Linked DNA regions of Homo sapiens: region 2 is linked to region 1. The links are contacts of gene promoters, found by promoter capture Hi-C in human tissues and cell types (Jung and others, 2019). All regions are on one chromosome and are shown on one strand. Each heading gives the region's core, a stretch centred on a gene start or on the middle of the fragment in contact. The rest is flanking DNA. Distances are from core to core; before and after follow the strand shown.

What was found. The method cuts DNA at HindIII sites, captures the fragments that hold promoters and counts their contacts. A contact is called where the count stands out against the background at its distance.
Region 2: a contact is called between a fragment that was not itself captured here and the fragment with the promoter of LOXL1 in region 1, in 1 of the 25 tissues and cell types used here (lymphoblastoid cells).

Annotation. Positions count from the first base shown.
Region 1 is chr15:73,923,216-73,927,711 of GRCh38, reverse strand. It overlaps LOXL1 (lysyl oxidase like 1), which reads right to left and starts at 1,250. Exons shown (of 7, transcript NM_005576.4): 1 at 1-1,250. The coding sequence starts at 928. All of the region lies in intron 1 of LOXL1-AS1 (LOXL1 antisense RNA 1), which reads left to right. RefSeq lists a silencer at 1-2 and enhancers at 1-744, 3,783-4,496. The HindIII fragment of the contact is 8,654 bases long and covers 1-3,795 here.
Region 2 is chr15:73,267,509-73,271,915 of GRCh38, reverse strand. It overlaps NEO1 (neogenin 1), which reads right to left. Exons shown (of 29, transcript NM_002499.4): 17 at 1,683-1,906; 18 at 1,462-1,600. Among named protein-coding and RNA genes, the nearest start is that of MIR12135, 30 kb to the left of the region's middle. The HindIII fragment of the contact is 6,003 bases long and covers 1-4,407 here.

The sequences.
Region 1 (4,496 bases), core at 1-2,500:
ACCAGCCCAGGCGTGGGTCTCCGCCATGGGCCTGCGCCGCCTCGGGACCGGGGTCAGGGTAGGCCTGCTCGAAGCCGGGGGTGCCCTCGCTGTACAGACTGTGCGAGTAGCGGCGGTCCAGGCCGTCGGGGGGCGGCGGCGGCGGCGGCACGTAGGGCCTCTCGGGGGCCGGGTAGAAGCCCTGAGGCGGGTACTCGGGCAGCTCTTCGCCGCCGCCGTACTCCTCGTAGCGCGCCCGGGGCTGGTAGGGGTAGATGACCCCCGCCGAGGCCACGGCCGCCGCCCCCGCGCCCACGCCGCCGCCCGCGGGCCGGTAGTACACGAAACCCTGGTCGTAGGTCCGCGACGCGGGGTCGTAGTTCTCGTACTGGCTGACGAAGGGCGCCTGCGGGTAGGGGAACTGCTGCGGGTAGGAGGGCTGCTGGCGGTAGGTGCTGGCGAAGGCCGAAGCCGAGACCGAGGAGGCGGAGCCCCCGTGCCGTTGCTGGGAGACGGAGGTGCGGGCCCGGGCCATGCCCGTGCTGTCCCCGACGGCCACCTCGCGCCAGTTGTCGGGCACCTGGCCAAAGCCGAATGGGTGCCGCGCCTGGCCGCGCACGGTGTCCGAGCCCACGCGCCCCGGCAGGGGCAGGGACGGCGCCTGCCGACGCCGGGGGCTCCCGTGGCTGCGCCGCTGCTGGGCCTGGGGCGCGCCGGCCAGCAGCACCCGGGAGCTACTCTCGGAGCGCTGAGGTCCGGCCGGCACGTACTCTGAGCCCGAGTTGAGCAAGCTGTACACCTGCCCGTTGTTCTCCCACTGGATCAGCTGCCGCCAGCGGGCGGGGTCCGAGCCCTGCCCGGGCTGCGCCTGCTGCCCGTGCACCAGCACGCACAGGCAGGCGCCCCACACCAGGGCCCCCAGCTGCCGGCTGCCTCGGGCCAGAGCCATGGTGACCCCTCTGCAGAGGCCTGGTGGACAGAGAGGCTCTCAGGAGTGGCCCCCTGGGCGTGCTTCTCTTCCCACGGCCTCGAGGACAGGAAGGCTCCTTGCTTGCCCCAGCTCTAGCTTTGTCCATGCTGGCCTTGTCCCGAGCGGGACGGCTCCTCCGATGACAGCATTTCAAGGCCAAGGGGTCAGGGCAGGGCAGGGGCGGTGCCCAGGGCTGCACGAGGCTCTCCGCAGGGCACCGGGCGGGCAGGACCGCCTGTGGGCCTTACATGGCCAGCCCCGCACTGGCTGGCCGCTCGGCTGGCGCTTTCCCACTCTGAATGAATAAGCAACAGGCTGGGAGCGTCGGGAGGCTTCGGCCTCCTGGTCCGCCTGCTGGGGCCTCCTCCGCGGGGCCCTATGGCCCGCCGGCTTTTAGCTATGCGCCGGTCCCACAGCTGCAGTGCTCCCTCAGTCCCTGGAGTTCCCAGCCAAGCCACAGACCTGCCTCTGAGGAAGGGAATCGAGCAGGGAGTAGGAGGGGACCTCTGGGGACTCGGGCCTGGTAAGTGGGGCTCTGGCAGGCAGAACGGGGCTGGGGTGTCAGCACCACCCCGCCCATTCCTCTCTGCTTTGGTCACAGCATCCCTGGTCTCCACCTTGCTCACTGGCTTCTCGTTTGGGCTGGAATGGGCCTCTGACTCCTGTCTGCCCCAGCCTCCTTCCCGTACTCCCGGGTTCTCCCTTTTCCTTGTTCCCTAAAGCCAGTGCTAATTAAGACACACCCTCTTTGCATGTTCCTTCCACCATTATCCCACACCCTCAATAGGAAGAAAAAAAAAAAAAAGACACACCCTCTTTGTTGGTGGGCCTCCTCGGGGAGATGCTGAACAGGGACCACTCTCTAATTCCAGGTCCCAGGTGCACCGCAGCTCTTGGGCCTGCGAAGAGAGGCACTGGAGCTGCACCTTTTCCCTCGTGGCACACCTCAGGGGCTTACTTTCCCAGTCTGAAGAGTGGGGTGTATCCCTGAGCTGAAAAGCACTTGTGAGATCCTGGGAGAGATCAACTTCCCAGACATCACGTATGGTTTCTGTCCTACATCTCTTGGCTCTGCATAGCCTGGGAATAACTTGAGTGTACACATGGATAAAATGAAACTGGGGGCTGTCTTTGATATGGGACAGGGGTCACTGTGAGGCAGAGAAGCCAGTAAGCATTGAACAACAGAAGGGGGTTCCGGAGACCTGGCCTGGTCCTGTTGCTGTGTGGCTTAGTCCCTTACTCTATCTGATCCAGGTGCCACGGCTTACCAATGGAAGATTAGGCCAGATGGCTCCTGAGAGTGCTTTGGGAGATTCTCTGTTCCTTCTGGGAATGGCAGGGATAGGAGGGGGTCCCAGAAGTTTGAACGCTTTGGCATCCAAGAAATCACACTCCAAATACTGCTCTTCTGGCCTCCCCTGGGCTGCCTTCTCCAACCGTGTTCCTGGGAACCGAAGGGCAGAAATTGCCCTCTTGGGCTTATAAACAAGGTATGAAGGACCTGTCCTTAATTTGGCTCCTGTATATTCTTTATTTTGGAAATGCCTGGAGCCCACCTAGAGAGGAGGCAACTAGAGTGGACATTCTTTGGGAACTATAGACCTCCCAACCCCATCCTTGCCAGGCAGCATTTGTTCACCCATTGCACTGTTCTTCAGGACTGAGGCTTGGACTCCAGCATGTCTCTACCCTTTAAATGCCCAGAATCCAGCCCAGAGGTAGGGGGCTTCCAATACCTCCTGGCCAGCAACTTGTCAACGCTGACACCTCAGCTCCCCAGCATGGGGTTTCCATCTCAGACTCCAGACAAGATTCCTCCAAAGAGCCACTGGTGTGACTGACACCAAGCAAGATGCTGAGGCAGGGCTTACTGAGGGCCGGGACCTGGAGGGTTAAGCCTTCCCTCCCTCCTGCTTGCCCCCTGCAGTGTTGGCCTCAGCTGCTTGGAATCCCTGGGGTCCTGTAGGGCCCTCCCGCCAGCCAGATGGGCAGCTGCTGCAGCAGAGGAGGGGGAGAAATGGAAACAGGCCTCAGGGTACCCCTAGGCAGGGAGGGAAGGGAAGAGGAGTGGAGGGAGGACAGAGGATGGCTGTGAGGAAGGGAACTCAGTTGCCCTAACGTGAAGGCAGGACCCCTCGCCTTGACTCGGACAGCAGGGCAGGGGCTGCCTCAAGGCTTTGGATGTGGGGGGATCAGGGCACATGCCATTCCACTCAGCGGGCCTCAGAGCCAGCTCTTGGCGTGAAACCTTACCCGATGCTGGCTCCTGCTCCTCTCTCTTTTTTTCTTAATAAGGTCGAATCAGAGTGAGTCAGAGGAGCCAAGTTTCCTGTTAGGCTCTATTTGAATAAACTCTGCTCTGAACATAGCCTGGGCCTCTGCACAGACTCCCCTGGCCAGGACTGCGCTCCTGCCAGCCATCCCTGCTGAGATGGAGACCTGGGGGTCCACACCATGACTTGAGCTAGGGACCTGGCCTGGCCCAGCCACTCCCCGGGGAAGCTTTTTAAGCTCTCAGAGCTTCAGAGTCCCGTCTGTGACCTGGGGGTAATCATACCTTTCTTGTGGCATATTTGAGAGGATGGAATGAGAGGATTATGAAAAGTCCCCAGCACAGAGCCAGACATGTGGCCACTATTTTCCTTCTTTCCTCTTGACTTGTGAGAGAAGGGAGGGATTTATCTCTTGGGGTTGACCCCCACTCCCACTTCCTCTGTCTTTCCTGTTTTTATCTGTCTTCAGCATCTTTCCTTGCTCAGGGTGAACCTTGTGCAGGGGGGCCAGAGGTGGCCCCTCCACCAGAGCTGTCCTCTCCCTTCCTCTCTACTCCCTCCTTCTGACCTCATTCTACTTGGGTTTAGGTCTCCTGCAGTGGCTGACAGGCCCAGCAGTTCTGTGAGCCCAGGGGAGCCTGCCTTCCATCACCTCTCCTCATGCTGGGCAAGGCCTTGCCTTGGTGGCTGGAGGTGTCCTGGCATCCTTAGGTTGAAACCTGCAGGGTGGGGTCCTAAAAGAGACCTGGGCAGGTTATGGAGGGTGCAGAGCTGGGGTCAAATGAGGGCGTGGACTCGAAGGCTGAGCTGAGCCAGAGCTGTCTGGGGTGAAGGGCAGCTTCTCTCTCCGCCTGTCCCTGCAGGCTGGGATTCACACCCACATTTTTAAGACCCAGGCATGTGCTTGAAGCTTGTTGCCAGTTCCTGGCACTAGGAACCGGTGTCAAGGGACCCTCGGAGGGGTGGTGATAGAAGGATGAAAGAGCCTGTTGATTGCGCATGACTTTATTAAGCCCCTGCCACGTGCTCAGCTCTGTGTTGCCGGGGCTCCCACGGAGCAGCCAGGGTCCTGTGACCCTGTCATGGAAGGCTGAGTTCTGGAAAGTCCATGGGGGAACCAGGAAGCAGCAGGCCTGACCAGCAGCGGGTCTGGGGAGCAGAGAGGGGTCAGGAGCTGTGGGATTCCTCCCTTGCTTTGCAGAGGGACGTACTAGGAGGCCCATGGTGGGTCGGAATTTTCTGTGATAGTGGGGATGCCAAGAGGGAAGGCC
Region 2 (4,407 bases), core at 177-2,676, 660 kb after region 1:
TTTTTTTTTGAGATGGAGTCTAGCTCTGTCACCCAGGCTGGAGTGCAGTGGCACAATCTCTGCTCATTGCAACCTCTGCCTCCTGGGTTCAAGTGATTCTCGTGCCTTAGCCTACCGAGTAGCTGGGATTACAGGTGCGCACCACCACATCCAGCTAATTTTTGTATTTTTAGTAGAGATGGGGTTTCGCCATGTTGGCCAGGCTGGTCTCGAACTCTTGGCCTCAGGTGATCCGCCCACCATGGCCTCCCAAAGCACTGGGATTACAGGTGCAAGCCACCACTCCCAGCCCCAAATATAACTTTTAAAAGCCCTATTTCTTCAAAGAATAGATGATTTACAGATTAATATTTTTCACTATGAGTTTATTCTGCAAACATACTGCCAACTATTGAGGTTACAGCTCTAAAGTGAAGCTGTTCGTTTATGCAACAGGACAATACGTTTCCTGTGTTTCCATGTGATAGCTGAAAACTTTTAACACACTAGTAGGAAAATGAGCAAATTAAGTACATCCTTAAATTTACTCAACTCTTCCTAAAATACTAGAATTCTCTTAGTATAAAATGTAAGGAAGCCTGGTGAAATGCAAATATCCTAAGGGAAAACACAATCTCATTTGTTATCTAATGGGTTAGGATTGAAGTAAAAACATTTTCTTAAAATGGTTGGCAAAGAAAGCAAACTCAAGGTCTATTTAAACTTTGATGTACTGTATTTCTAACTCTTCAAATCCAACCCTTCTCTCTGTACAAAGTCCAGTGAACTGTGCAGAAGACAAAAAGACACTGAGGCCAAGCCCAGTTTGTGGAGAATTTATAACTCCATTATTCATATAGGAGAGAAATAGGAGGCCAAAATAGACAGAGATTTGAAATGGTTATGCATATCCCTAGACTAGGAAAGCCCAGGGGGTAGCAGAAAGGCATGTCTAAAAGTCAGCAAAAACCAAACAGAATCTCAAACCCAGATAGCCTGTTCTCTCTTTAATTTGCTTAGTCATCTTTTCCCTCTCGTGTCCACTTACAAAGACCTTAAGGATTATTTCAGTGGAAGATTTTATAAGACGCTAATTTGCTTGCAAGCAAACTGCAGAGGCAGCTTTGGGGTCACCCAGCAAAGTGTTCAGGCTCCAAGCAAGCATGGCATTGGAACTGCCTGGTCAAGGGCAGGTCACTTCATCTTTTCTATCTCAGTTTACCAGTAAAGCAGGATTAATGGCAATAATCCCTTACATCTACCCAGTGCTTTGTAATTTATCATGTTTTCCCTGTAGTATCCTGTTATTTGCTAATGTTCTTGTTCAGTAATTAAAAACACACAACTTGTCAGCTGAAATAGCAAACACTGAATTCCAAATGTAGTTGCTCACTGTGTTTTGTAAATATGTCAATTCAGGCACTCAATTCTTTCCTTGGGAAGTAAAAGCAGCCATGTGACATGGCTTCTGACAACACATACCTAATTCAAAGGTGGTCCCATGGGCTGTCATACTCCATGTACTTGATCTTCGACCTTTGGTCACCATCACAGAGAATTCATAGAGTGTATTCGGCTTTAAACCAGTCACCAAATAACTCAAAGTGGTTGCATTTGCATTCTGAAAAAAACATGAATTGAGACTTTAAAATTAGAAAGTATCAATGATTAGCTTTTTTCAGCCAGGGCAAATGTGTCAGTACCTTGTACTTGGTGTTTGCTGGGATGTTGGTTTTCCATCGGACGGTGTAGTATCGGGAGTCTGTAATCTTCTGGTGCTTGGGCAGCGAGTTGTCTGCCCACGTAATCCTGATGGTGTCATGACTCAGAATGGAAGCCTGAACTCCCACTGGTGGCATCATGGGAGTGGGATCTGGCACTGGAGTGTATGGAGCATTAATAACAAATAAATCAACTTCAGAAGTGTCTGAGCAGAAAATAATTTAAAAAGGGAAGTGGCATTTTAATGTAAACAAAAATAAAATAAAAGGGAAATGCAGGGTAATATAATGGAATGAAAGGTGAGAAATGGAGAAAAAGAAAGAAAATTCAGAGTTAATAGATAACCACCATTCATTTAAAAGACTATTTCCACTTGTGTTCTTTCAGGAAAAAATTACAGAAAAATGTTAAGAGAAGCAGTAATAAACTATATTCTCTACTGCATTCTATAGGCATATTAAAATGTTATAATCCAGTGATTATATTAATGTATTCGTGCTTGAATTTTCTTAAAATAACTTGAAAATTCTACTTCCTGTTCAAAAAGCCTCATGAGGCCAGGTGCAGTGGCTCATGCCTGTAATCCCAGCACTATGGGAGGCAGAGGCGGGCAGATCACCTGAGGTCAGGAGTTCAAGACCAGCCTAGCCAATATGGTGAAACCTGTCTCTACTAAAAATACAAAAATTAGCTGGGCATGGTGGCAGGTGCCTGGGGTCCCAGCTACTCGGGAGGCTGAGGCATGAGAATCGCTTGAATCTGGGAGATGGAGGCTGCGGTGAGCTGAGATTGCACCACTGTACTCCAGCCTGGGTGACAGAGCAAGACTCTGTCTCAGAAAACAAAAAAACCCCAAAACCAAAAAGGCTCACGAAGACAAAAACTGCTTTTAGAATCAGGGGTACAATTTCTAAACAAGCAATACAAACCTCATGGTTTGAGATTTCAGTGAATGTGGCTGAATTTTTGGGACAAGAGTTATCTGTGCATATCACTATTCATGTAAGGGTCCAACACTCAAACCTGAGTCTTGAATGTCAGCCATGGGTATTGACGGTATCTGATACCCACAAAGGGTCAAGTTCAGACCTCCTGATGTCCTGGGTCTAATGGCAGTACAGTGACATAGCTGACACCCAAATAAAGCAAAAGGAACTCAAGGGTGTACTCTTCCTTCAGGAAAGGTAAGCTGACACCATGCTGGACTATCTACCATAGTTTCTTCCACAGAGTCAGAGAACAACCCAGTGATGAATTCCCATCAGTTAACGGAAATGCCATGGTTATCACAGTTCCAAGTAACAAACTTCACAAACTTTAGAAATCAGAGTACTGTACAGTACTTATTTGATGGAAAGTCTATACTCATGGAGCTGTCCTGTGCCATATACAACAGACACCTTCTCTGAGGCCAGAATGAGCACAAAAGCACCATGCACCATGGGCCCAGGGCAATACAGCAGAATCCATACGGGCTTTCCCAATTCATGCTTAGGTTTTCTAAGTTTACACATACTGATTTAAGTTCACAGTTTACAATGGGTTTCTCACATAGTCATGGTGACTAGCCCTTATTACTCAAAATGTGGAATGGCATGGACCTTGTTTATGAATAATTGCTAAGCTAAAGTAATAGTCTCCATTTGTGTATTTCCTGTGCAATGAGGACTAAAAATAACAGAGGAGTAGCATACATTATATAACCAAGAGCTTTGTTCAAAGTTTGGCAGGACACATACCAATTAGTTACAGAAAATGCACCTTCAGGTGTAGAAGTCATTAGAATTCTTGTAGAAATTTTTTTTCTTATATGTAGCAACCCTTAGAAAACATATCTAGATTACATGACTTAGGAACATTTTCTTGTGTATTTCTAGCTAGTAGGCTATATTTTTAAGCCACATAAAAGGAAGTAATGTCAAATTTGTTTTTTACTATTATAGCCTGATTTTAGAAAGTAGCAGACCACTTATTTAAATACTTTTTCACTTAATTTTTGCTCCTTTTTGTAATACTAAAGCTATTTCTAAAAGAAATTATAAACTGTAAGCATATAGAAGACAGAACAGAACTACCAAACATGTAGTAGTCTTAAATAGAAGCTTAAAAAAAAGGACAGAGAATATTAGGCCCCCTGATGTTCTGGGTCTAATGGCAGTAGAGTGACATAGCTCACACCCAAATAAAGCAAAAGGAACTCAAGGATGTACTCTTCCTTCAGGAAAGGTAAGCCTTCCTTAAGAATGTTACCAAATCTGCACAATTATGCAACATATCCAGCAGATATCACTGGACAATAAAGAATCAAAATTTTTGGAAATAAATGAAAAAGAACATTTCCGAAAATAAATTCTTTGGTTTCCAGTGCCCTTTTAAAAAATTTATAACTCTAAGCAAAGACTTGGAACCAACCCAAATGTCCAATAATGATAGACTGGATTAAGAAAATGTGGCACATATACACCATGGAATGCTATGCAGCCATAAAAAATGATGAGTTCATGTCCTTTGTAGGGACATGGATGAAGCTGGAAACCATCATTCTCAGCAAACTATCGCAAGGACAAAAAACCAAACACCGCATGTTCTCACTCATAGGTGGGAGCTGAACAATGAGAACACATGGACACAGGAAGGGGAACATCACACACCAGGGCCTGTTGTGGGGTGGGGGGAGGGGGAGGGATAGCATTAGGAGATATACCT